Linked DNA regions of Homo sapiens: all the other regions are linked to region 3. Evidence: promoter capture Hi-C in 16 types of primary human blood cells and fetal thymus (Javierre and others, 2016). All regions are on one chromosome and are shown on one strand. The core of a region is centred on a gene start or on the middle of the fragment in contact, and the rest is flanking DNA. Distances in the headings are between cores, read along the strand shown.

Region 1 (2,764 bases), core at 122-2,621, 390 kb before region 3:
AATATCCCAGAGATTGAATCTGTTTGCATTTTCCTCATCTAGGATAACAGCTGCTTGAAGCCAGGGCTCTTAGCCCTTTGCATTCCCCTTGAGCGAGGAAGCCACACTGCCTTTCTGTGTCTGGTTCAGAGCTCTTCCTTCTTGGCATGTTTTCTGGACTACATGCACATGGGCAGCTATAGATTAATCTGCAAAACCTAGTCACTTACCTACCCATAATATCTGGGAAGGTGTGGTATTTGTTTTAAAGAAACATTGTTTCTTTGGGAGGGCAGTTTCTGTCTGGACTTTGAGGTGGACTTAGTTATCCCTACAGTTCTTTAACTCTCAGCTTTTAATAAAAGATGAAATCAGATATTGATGCAGTTGGGTCACAATTCTTTAGAATGCTTCTACCCCAGGGCCGCTTCCTGTTCCTAGTCATGGTTTTCCAGTTTAGTAGTGGAGTTTCTTGAGGCTAACTTACAGAAATTTCTAACTGAAAACTTTAAGAGTTATTGATACTTGTTTTTTCAGTCAGTCACTTACATCACCTAGCCTACTCTCTGGAATTTAAATTTATTTCTCTAGGCTGGTCCTGGAAGTTGATAACCTTTTGGCAAAGCTTAGATTTAGGAGAAGGCTTGAGTCCCTGTTCAGCGGGTCTGTGGATTCTCTTTGCTTATGGCTCTCTGCCTGCAGCCCTGGCAGACCATACTGTATGTCATGGATACCCAGTGGAAATATTACTGAGATGAAACACATTTCCAAGGGTATTTAAACTCTCACTCTGCCACCTTTCTAAGGGTGGGAGGCTGGCAGAGATGCTGCAATGCTTGATAATCATTTGGCCACACTGAAATTTCCAAAGGGAGCTCTTGCCGGTGCTTAAAACCAAAACTCCTGGACACTTAGAAAATTCCATGAATCTAGCACAAAATATCCATTCTTGCCCAAGTGTATCCCCTTTCTCTCCAGCTTAATCTTTTTTTTTTTTTTTTTTTTAAAGCCCAGGCCAAGGGTACTTTTAACTGGAAACTGGGGAGGAGGGAAGAACACTAGCAGGGAGCTAAGAGGCAGGTTGCTGGGTAAGCCATCCTGCTCCTACCTGGTGCCTGTATCTACATTGCTGAGTGCTGTGCGCCAGTGCCTTTCCTTCATCTGCAGATGGAGCCCATCTCTTTCCACCTGGGTGAGGAGACCCTCTGCTACTCCAGGGGTAAACCTTAAAGAAGGTGTCTTGAAGAGCCCAGAGGACACTCACGTGCTAAGGTGTCCATTTTATGCATCTTTAAAATATTTTATTTAAAAAAAAAAATAGCCCTGCCCTGTCTTAGTGCCACTAACGGCCCAGTTCCATCCATTCTGAATGGAAAAGCGGAGACTGCCAGCACTTTCCTTGGTCTTCCCTTTGTCTCCCATGATGTGTTGTTCCCTCATCCCTCCCATCCATTTCACTGTGTGTGGATGGATAGCAGAGGGTACCACGCAGTCCTTGAGGCAGTCCTGTGTGATTCCATGATCAGTTGTTTTTGTATTTTAACTATTCTTCCAAACCAGCAGATGTTTGGAAATTAAGGAAAAAATTAAATTCTCATCAATGGTTGCTGTTATAGTTAAATCAGTAAAGATCTTGAGTATCAACTTGGTGTTTTAATTTTTTAAAAATTTCTGGTGAAATCCTGCTAAGGTTATTTCACATTTCAGGAGTTTCAGCTGGTGGGGGAGATGGGCAGAGGTAAGAGGCAGTTGGCTCTTTATCTGTCAGTTCTCCACACTTGCGGAGCATGCACTTTGTCAATGTGGACCTGTGTATGCAAAGGAGATGGTGGGACTCTCAGGGAGCATGACCCTGGTCCTGTGCTCAGGAGCTTGCAGGTGAACATGTATATGCTGGGCTGACGGCACCCAAGCATGTCCTTCTCTTAAGTGCCAGCCCTGAGGAAGCCCAAACAACTTTTCCTTTCTCAGAAGAGGGGCTGCCTGTGCCCCTGGGAGCACTGGTTAGATGCCCATCATGCCTGTTACCTCAAACCAAGCTGTGCTGCATGAGCGTCAGATTCCCTGCTGTTAACTAATCCAGCGGGTTTCATGTATTAGTCCTGAGAATGAGAATTCTTTCACGTGCACAGAGGTCCACAGAATAAAACTGGACTGGAGGAAGCTTTCCCATCGGAACTGTCTAGGGGTTTAGGGCACAGGCTTTGGAGTCAGGCAGCTTCAGTTCCAGCTGTGCTGCTTAGTAGCCAAATTACCCAGCAGAATTCTTATTCTACAAGCCTCAGTTTTCTCTAAAATAAGGTTAAGAAACAACTTTTCTAGGTGGTTGTCAGGCCCAGTTGATGTCATAAAGAGCCCAGTGCCTAGTATACTCAGCTCAGGAAACAGTATTTAAGGGACTCAAGCACAGCCCGGTTGACATGGACACCCAGAGATTATTCAGCCCCCTCTCCTCTTCCCTCCAAGTGTGTAAGTTTAGGAATGGAACAGGTTTGAGCACTGCAGCTACCACCTACTCATGGAACCTATAGAAGGACTAAAGGATCTCTTTAAGGGAAGATGGGACCAAAACCTTAAAAGCGCTTTCCTACATCCTTTACTCTGCCCTAAAGGCAATTAGGATAGGTAAGGATCTTACTGCTAATGAAGACTTTTTTTTTTTTGAGACTGAATCTTGCTCTGTTGCCCAGGCTGGAGTGCAGTGGTGCGACCTCGGCTCACTGTAACCCCCGCTTCCTGGGTTCAAGTGATTCTCCTGCCTCAGCCTCCTGAGTAGCTGGGATTA
Region 2 (2,732 bases), core at 203-2,702, 270 kb before region 3:
CAGCCCAGGGGCGCAGTACACAGGGGTGACATACAGGTGCATGTCCTGCCTGATGGAGGGTGGGTACCTTGAGCCCCAGGTGCATGCTGTGTTGGCTCACACATCCTGTCCAGGTGCTTGGTGTGAGGGTGATTACGACTGCACAGGTGCAGCTGTTTACACGCACATGGTCTCATGCACCCCGGTGAGTTTTGTTTGTGTGTGCAAGCTTGGGAGCCTGACAATTTCTGGCCCGAGGACAGTGGCTGGGGCTGCCATGTGGATGGGGACCCTGTTGGGGTTTGTGCATCCAAGAGACGCCCGCTGACCCAGACCTTGCTTTTCTCGTCCAGGACTTTGACCAGCTGCTGGAGGCCCTGCGGGCCGCCCTCTCCAAGGACCCAGGCACTGGCTTCGTGTTCAGCTGCCTCAGCGGCCAGGGCCGTACCACAACTGCGATGGTGGTGGCTGTCCTGGCCTTCTGGCACATCCAAGTACGTGTGGCCTCTCAAGTGAGATTAGAGATTTGCCTGGAGGAGGGTAGACACTCAGGTCCCAGGCACACTGGCTCCACAGGAGGGTGTGAGGGGCAGAGACAGCCGGGTGTGGTCCCAGAGCCCCTTCCATCAGTCTTGGGCAGCCCCCAAGTCCTCCCCAGCAAGGGGCTCCTGGCGTTGGGAGGGGGCTTCTGTCTCAGCAGCTGTCTTCCCTCAGGGCTTCCCCGAGGTGGGTGAGGAGGAGCTCGTGAGTGTGCCTGATGCCAAGTTCACTAAGGGTGAATTTCAGGTGAGCATGCCCTGCGGGGTCCCTGAGGCACCTTGGGATGGGAGGAGGAGGAGGACTCCTGCTTGCCGGTCTAGGGGTCCTCAAAGCACGTCCCAATGCAGTCACGTCTGCCACCTCATCATATCAGTGCTTCCCTGTTCCCATTTTATAGATGAGCCCAGCAAGGCATGGGACAGCTTGGCTCTGAGGCCCTGGCAGACGGCCGGCTATGGAGATGTGGGCTGGACCCCTCCCTGCCCGGCCTTGCTGTTGGGCTGCTGTGTGCCTTGGGGAGGTCACTGGCCACCGTCTTGTCTGGGTAATGTTGATAACAACCTCCCAGCACCTTCAACCCAGCTGTGGTTGGTGACCTTGTGTGGGTCCCCAGCCTACTTTGCCCTGCCTGTTCCTCTATTTCAGATTAGGGCACTGGATGGCCAGCCACAAACATTCCAGATTTAGTCATCCATGTATTGTGCACCTGCCACATGCCACAGGCCATCTTCTCAGGCATCCCGAGAGTCGTGGCAACGTCCCTCGGAGTTGGCCCATGGCTGACCCACAGTCAGCAGCACAGTTGGCTCGTGTCTTACTGGTTAACTTCGCCACTTGCCCCTCCCCTGCCCTCGCCCCAGTCCTGAGGCCCTGACCGCCATGCAGCACCTCACACTTGCTAAGCTCTTGCAGCCTTTGCATATGCGGTGCCTTCTCCCTTCCTTCTTCTGGCTGATTCTCTGATTCTTTCCTTTTTCCTTTTCTTTATGTGGTAAAATATGCATAACATAAAATGTACCATTTCAACCATTTTTAAATGTACAGTTCAGTGGTGTTAAGTACATTCACGTTGTTGTGCAACTGTTGCCACAACCCATCTAACTCCTTCATCTTGCAAAACAGAACTCTGCTCTCCTATTCAGTAATGATTCCCCATCCTCCCTCCCAGCAGCCCCTGTTCTACTTTCTGTCTCAATGGATGTGACTACTCTAGGAATCTTCTATGAGTGGAATCGTACAGTATTTGTGTTTTATGACTAGTTTATTTCACTGAGCATAATGTTCTCAAGGTTTACCCACATTGTAATATGTGTCAGAATTTCTTTCCTTTTAGAGGCTGAATAATATCCCATTGTATGGATAGACCACATTTTGTTTCTCCATTCCTCCATCAAGGGACACTATTTGCTTCCACCTTTTGGCTGTCATGAGTAATGCTGCTATGAAATGCATAGTGCACGTAGCTGAGTCCCTGCTTTCAGTTCTTTTGGGCATATACTCAGGAGTGGAATTGCTGGATCCTATCGTAATTCTGTTTACTTTTTTGAGGAACCACCATGCTGTTTGCCGCAGTATATGCACCATTTTACATTCCCACCAGCAACACACAAAGGTTCTGATATTTCCACATCCTCACCAACACTTGATTTCTTTTTTCTGTTTTTTTTAGAGATGGGAGTTCACCGTGTTGGCCAGGCTGGTCTCGAACTCCTGACCTCAGATGATCCACCCGCCTCGGCCTCCCAAAGTGCTGGGAGCCACTGTGCCCAGCCGTTTTTTTTTTTTTTTTTTGGATAATAGCCATCCTGCTGGGTATGAAGTGGTATATTGTGGCTTTGATTTGCATTTCTCTAATGATTAGTGATGTTCAATATCTTTTTATGTGTTTATTGGCCACTTGTATATCTTCTTTGGAGAAATGTCTGTTCAAGTCCTTTGTCCATTTTTGAATTGGATTGTTGTTGAGTTTTGGTTCTTTATATATTCTGGAAACTAATCACTTATAAGAGAGGTGATATGTAAATATGTTCTCTATTCTGTGGGCTGACTTTTTACTCATTGATAGTGTCATTTGATGCACAAAAGTTTTTAATTTTGATGTAGTTTGTCTGTTTTTTCTTTTGTTGCCTGTGCCCTTGGTGCTATATCCAAGAAATCATTGCCAACTCCAATGTCATGAAGCTTCTCCCTTGTGTTTTATCCTAAGACTTTTA
Region 3 (2,907 bases), core at 40-2,539:
GTAGGCATTGGCAGGAGGCCCCAGAACATTTTCTGACCCTCAAACACTGAGAATGCATGTCTGCTGGGGAATAGTAGTGAGGGGGCTAAGGGTATGGGGGTGTTCATGCCTGAGTCAGGGGCTCTGGATGGTAGAAATGTCTGGGAGTTCTGACGGAATGGGGGTGAGGAGGCCTAAAGATAACCTGTTCATAGTCTTTCAGGGCCTTAACCATTATGGCTGGGGAAGTGGGAAGTGCCGATGGGGTATGCAGAGGAGGGCAGCTGTGATAGTACATTTCATCCTGAAAGCACTACATGTGGATAATGACGGTAGTGATGATGCCCTAATTTTAGTGTCATGGCAACATTTTCCAAGGGGATGGAATTGGGTACCCTCATTAGTGTCATTTTTGTTTGAGAGATTTCAAGAGTCTATCTAGGTGTCATTTTAAAATCTATTGAAAAAAAATCTTGAATGCAGGTCACTGACCAGTTGGTTCCATGTAACTGCACTGCCTTCTGCTACCACTAAAGCAATGTTATGACAACCTGGACAAGTCATGGGAAACCTATGTGAGACTTAGTTTTTTCTTTTTCTTTTTGGAGTTGGGGGTCTCACTATGTTGCTCAGGCTGATCTAGAGCTCCTGGGCTCAGACAACCCTCCCGCCTCAGCATCCCCAAGTGCCGGGATTACCGATGTAAGCCACTACACCCAGCTGAGACTTAGTTTTTTCATCTGGAAATGAAGGCGACCTTTGTGATCCCAGTGGGCCCTTGCACTTGTGTATAAGGTGATTCCCAGCACTGCTCATGAAAGTAGTGATGGCAGAGTAGCCTCTGCTCTCCATTTTATTTTTGGGGTGGGGGGGGGCAGTGGTGGAGGGGAGGATGAGGATGATATTTCCATTAAATAAGTTTCCTTGTTGCTTTTCTTCAGGCACCACTGACCTCGATGGAAAAATGAAGTCCCTGGCCCAGGAAAGAGACCCAACTCTGTGGCTGTTTTGGATTAGTTTGTACAATGCCCTGCAGACCTACTCTCTCAGGAGGCTCCAAGTGACCAAATGTGACAAGAAAGTTTTTTGTCCAAGGCAGTTTGGAAGAGAAGTTGGTGACCGTCGGGATACCACAGCCGCCCCAGGACGGCCTGGTTGAGACATTCACTGGAGGGTCTGGGTGCAGCCCGCTGCCTGGCCGGTAGGCGGCGCGCACAGGCCGTGGGGCCCGGGTCTGGGCGTGCGCGCGGCTGGTAGCAGCGGGGCCGCGCACGCCAGGGTCCGGGAGCCGGGCCGGTGCCCCCGGAGCCATTTCCGGGAGGGGCGAGGCCGGCGGCTGCCGGGCCTCCAATCTCGGCGGCGGCGGCGGCAACAGGGGAGCCTGGGTCTCGCGGCCTGCGAGTCCGTCGCGTGCTGAGGGAGACGCAGGAGGTGGAGCCGGCCGGGTGCTCGAGGGAAGGAGACTGGAAGCTGGTTCCGGCGTGAGGAGGTGGAGGGGCCGCCGCGGGCTCCGGGGGGCGGTGAGGGTCGGGACGGAGGCGCCGCGGGGTGAGGAGAGGACAGGGGCCGGGTGGGCCGAGGGCGGGCAGAGGCGGCGGGGCGGCTGCGGCCGGGGCGGGGGCGGGGGCGGGCTGAAGGCGTGGGCACCAGCCGCTGAGGTCCAAGCAAGTGGACGGCGGGCGGGCGCGGGGCCGCGGTGGGGCGGGTCTGGAGCCCACGCCTGCCGCGGGGTAGGCATGGGCGGCCAGGATTTGCTGGTCCTCCGACGGGAGGGGTGACAACGAGAGCGAGGCCGTGCTGATTCTGAAGGGAGTGCGGAGGAGGCAGGACCCTGGTAGCCTCGGCACCTTCAGCCCGGGTTAGGTGGCCTGGGCTGGGCTCCCCACCCCGATCGCGCGCAGACGGGGCGTTTCCCCTAGTTTCCACCTGGGTGGAATGCTTTGTGGGAGTCTGGGTCTGGATTAGTTTCATCAGCTGTGGGAGGGAAACCTAGTTGCAGCAGGATTTTGATTCGCTGGTCTGGGGTGCTAGGGGTGGACTGTGATATCTGGGAATGAAATCTGAGCCTTCAAAGGAGGGAGAGAACCATAACTTGGCTGCTCTGGCGAATCTAGGCGGGCTGGCGAGACAGTTTAAAGCTCTAGAAGTAAACAAACCTGGTTCCCTTTTACAGAGTCTGAAAAAGGGGAGCGCGGAGAGGAGGCTGGAAGAGGAAGATGCCTAGCACAGACCTTCTGATGTTGGTGAGCCTTTTGCAGACATCCTCCTGGTTCCAAGGCATTTGTCTCCGTTTTTTTAGTCCAAAGGATCCCAGTGTGTAGATTTCACCTCTGATGCTTGCTTTTGGTAGCTGAGCGTTTTGCCACCTTTTATTTTGTTTTGTTTTGTTTTGTTTTTTTGGAGACGGAGTCTCACTCTGTTGCCCAGACTGGGGTGCAGTGGCATGATCTCGGCTCACCGCCACCTCTGCCTCCTGGGTTCAAGCGATTCTCCTGCCTCAGCCTCCTGAGTAGCTGGGATTACAGGCGCACGCCACCACGCCCGGCTAATTTTTGTATTTTTAGTAGAGACGGGGTTCTCCATGTTGGCCAGGCTGGCCTTGAACTCCTGACCTGTGGTGATCCACCCGCCTTGGCCTCCCGAAGTGCTGGGATTCCAGGCGTGAGCCACCGCGCCTGGCCAACCACCTTTTATTTTGGATGAATGATCAGGATGAATAAATAGCTGAATTAAATACATCAATACAGTATATGTAGAACTTAAATTATTGAAGAATCTTTTTCAAAATTATTATTATTTTTTTTAAATGAGACAAGGTCTTGCTATGTTCCTCAGACCGGAGTGCAGTGGCTATTTACAGGCATAATCATAGCTCACTGTAGCCTGGAACTCCCACTTCAAGTGATCCTCTTGCTTCAGCCTCTGGAG
Region 4 (2,937 bases), core at 438-2,937, 360 kb before region 3:
CTCAGGGTCCTTACACCGTGTTCCCTGTTATCCACCTTCTCTTAGACTGTGAGCTTCCAGGGGACAGAAGCCCCCTCTGGACCCTTTCACTCAGTGCCCGGTGTACGTAATAGATGCTTAATAAATGAGGCTGGAAAGGGTACTTTTCTTGATTGCTGTCAGCAGGAGGAGGCTGAGGCAGAGGAAAAGAGCACTGGACTTGGAGTCGGCGTGCCTGCCTGCCTGCCTCTAGCTTCGCAATCTTGTTTGCAGCGAAGGGGCATAGTGGTCTGTGCGGCGCGGTGCCCAGTCCCGCCCGCCCCGCCGCGCCTGGCCGGGCGCCTGGCACAGCCCAGGCGCTCAGCGGAGGCCCCAGGCATGGCAGGACCTACGGAGCCCGGTGAGGTGAGCGCGCCAGGCCGGCCGGCTGGGCTGGAGGCAGAGGCCCAGGCGCCCGCCCTCGTGGGAAAGCGCGCGGAGGGCGACCCGGGTGAGTCAGCCGAAGAGCAGACGGGCTGCGGAGCAAGAAGACCGAGGCTGGAGGCGGCAGTGAGTGTTCCCGCCGGGCGGGTGGCGTTGTCGCCGCCAAGGGGGACCCGCCCCTCTCCCCTGTTCCCCGCACTGCCGGTCCCGCCGCCGGGGCCGGGACAAGAGCCTAGTGAGACAGAGACGCTCCGGCGCGAGCTCCTGCCCAGGCCCTGTGGTCGGGCGGGGTGGGGGTTACCCAGGGCTCTGCCCTCAGCGGGATGTGTCCCCTCCCATCTGTCCCGTCCCCTCGCTGGGCTTCTGTCCAGTGGCCTCATTCTGTTGCTGCTGGTGGGAAGGGTGGGATGTGCCTGCTTGGTAAATTGTGGGGCGCCACCAAACGCGGGGGGCCCCCATTTGGTGCCAGGCGAGGCCTGGTGCGTGGGCAGGAGAGTCAGGATGGGCCCCGCACACCATCACCGCCTTACCGCGGTGCTGCACTGCTAAACCAAGGGATTACTGCTGTTCCTGGGCTCAGGGAGAGAGCGGCTCCCCCACCTTTATCCCCCGCCATCCGCCCACCCACTGCTTCACCCTTCCCCCATCCCACCCCACCCCACTCCAAGCCCCAGGGAGCCCGGTTTATAAGAGCCACTGCCACCGTTTGTCCATCGCTCACTGGGACGCTGCTTTGTGATAAACATTTTGCACAGTTACCTCAGTTAGCCCTCCCGCTGGCACTATACTGACGGCTCCCTTTTCAGATGAGGAACCGGGGCTCGGAGAGGTGAAGTCACTTCTTCAAGGTCACTGCAGTCAGAGGCGGAGCTGCCCTGAGGCTAATTGAAGCTTAAGTTTCAGACCCTTGCAAGGCCCGGACCTAATTTTTGCATTTGTATTTTTGTGTTCTTTTCCTTTAAAAGCCCCCTCCCGCGACAGTAGGAGGGTCAAGCCCCTTCAAAATGGATCTCTCTGACCGTGCCTGGTCTGTCTGCTGTCCTCTGTGGCACTGCCTCGGATGGGTGGGGATGGGGGGGTTGCTGGGGCTGGGCAGTGCCAACCTGGCATGGAGGGAAGGACGTCCAGATTTGGTCAAGGGGCCCACATGACCTTTGCATGAGTCTTGGCAGACTCCAAACAGCCTGCTGTGCGCGGAGCCAGCTTAGGCAGAGCCCCCGCCTTGTGACGTTGGGATCTTCTCTGGGACTCAGCTGTCCTCATCTGAGTTAGGGGTGGTTATTATGGGGTAACTGCAGACACAAGGTGAAAGTGGAAGGAACAGAGGCTGGAAAGCTCGGAGCCCTGCCTGTCCTCCGTTCCCCCACGTACTCCCCCTCAGCCACCCCATAGGTGAACGCCACTCTGCCCTGTGCCCTCATCTTCACAGCCAGCCCTCTCCCCTCCAGCTGCCGCACCTTCTCCACAGCAGTTGTCCGTGGTGCCTACACTCCCCGCTTCACGGTCACCCTTCACCCGGTTCCATTGTGTGCCTCCTGCCTCCACCCACCATGGCGTCTGCCCTGGCTTGGGTTGTATAGGAGAGACTCCGTGTTACCAAATTGGCTCCAGCCCTGCCTGGCCGCACAGCAGCCTTTGACACGATTGAAATGCTCCCCACCTCTTAGCTTTCGTGCGGCTAAGCTTCCCTTCCGCCGTCTGGGCCCCTGCTCAGTCCTCTTTGTCTTCTGAGCCTCTTCCCCCTGCCCCAGGCCTCCCCTCCCCTCGAAGCCCGCCCTCCAAGGCTGTGCTTCGACTTCTCTTCTCCCCTGCGGTTACTTGCCTCTCCTGGAGGGTCTCACCCATCCTGGGGCTTAAAAGCCACCAATGCCCATGGTGCCCGGCCTTTGTCTACCCCAGACCAGTCCTCAGAACTCTGGACCCCTGCACCCACCGGCCTACCGTGCGTCTCCCGTGGGCTCCCTCACAGTCATCTCCGGCTCCATTCATCAAGACTGAACTCCTCTGCGCCTTCTCCAGCGTTCTGTCTGCAGCCAAGCCCCTGATTCCTGATTCCTTCCTCCCTCAACACCACAACATCCAACCTCATACCAGCCATGTGGATCCCACTTCCAAAATGGCTCTCTAGAATCCACCTGCTCCTCCCCATCTCTTCTGTCACCACCTGGTCCCAGCCACCATCATCTCTCTCCTGGACAACTGTGGAGGCCTCCCTGCCTCCACCCTGGCCCCCCAGAATCCACTCCTCTCAGGAGCTAGATGGGATGGCATCACTCCCCTCACTGAAACCCTTCAGTGCCTCTCATTGCCTGTAGGATGAAATACAAGCTCCAGGCCGGGCCAGGTGGCTCACGCCTGTAATCTCAGCACTTTGGGAGGCCGAGGCGGGCGGATCACCTGAGGTCAAGAGTTCAAGACCAGCCTGGCCAACGTGGAGAACCCCGTCTCTACTAAAAATACAAAAATTAGCCGGGCGTGGTGGCATGCGCCTGTAATCCCAGCTACTTGGGAGGCTGAGGCAGGAGAATCACTTGA

Evidence for each region. Contacts are between HindIII fragments. The CHiCAGO score rates a contact against its expected background, and 5 or more counts as called.
Region 1: a fragment that was not itself captured here is called in contact with the fragment with the promoter of SGPL1 in region 3 in 1 of 17 cell types (M2 macrophages); the score reaches 5.1 in M2 macrophages.
Region 2: a fragment that was not itself captured here is called in contact with the fragment with the promoter of SGPL1 in region 3 in 1 of 17 cell types (naive CD8 T cells); the score reaches 5.5 in naive CD8 T cells.
Region 4: a fragment that was not itself captured here is called in contact with the fragment with the promoter of SGPL1 in region 3 in 2 of 17 cell types (naive CD4 T cells and naive B cells); the score reaches 7.3 in naive CD4 T cells.

Annotation. Positions count from the first base shown.
Region 1 is chr10:70,426,996-70,429,759 of GRCh38, forward strand. EIF4EBP2 (eukaryotic translation initiation factor 4E binding protein 2) reads left to right here. Exons shown (of 3, transcript NM_004096.5): 3 at 1-1,623. Among named protein-coding and RNA genes, the nearest start is that of NODAL, 13 kb to the right of the region's middle. The HindIII fragment of the contact is 1,539 bases long and covers 603-2,141 here.
Region 2 is chr10:70,540,770-70,543,501 of GRCh38, forward strand. PALD1 (phosphatase domain containing paladin 1) reads left to right here. Exons shown (of 20, transcript NM_014431.3): 16 at 333-473; 17 at 694-765. Among named protein-coding and RNA genes, the nearest start is that of PRF1, 61 kb to the right of the region's middle. RefSeq lists an enhancer at 1,116-1,616. The HindIII fragment of the contact is 2,492 bases long and covers 207-2,698 here.
Region 3 is chr10:70,814,659-70,817,565 of GRCh38, forward strand. SGPL1 (sphingosine-1-phosphate lyase 1) reads left to right here and starts at 1,290. Exons shown (of 15, transcript NM_003901.4): 1 at 1,290-1,468; 2 at 2,153-2,222. The coding sequence starts at 2,196. RefSeq lists silencers at 1,086-1,405, 1,426-1,515, 1,596-1,705. The HindIII fragment of the contact is 12,143 bases long and covers 1-2,907 here.
Region 4 is chr10:70,458,039-70,460,975 of GRCh38, forward strand. It overlaps a transcript of PALD1 not described here. Among named protein-coding and RNA genes, the nearest start is that of NODAL, 18 kb to the left of the region's middle. The HindIII fragment of the contact is 792 bases long and covers 1,292-2,083 here.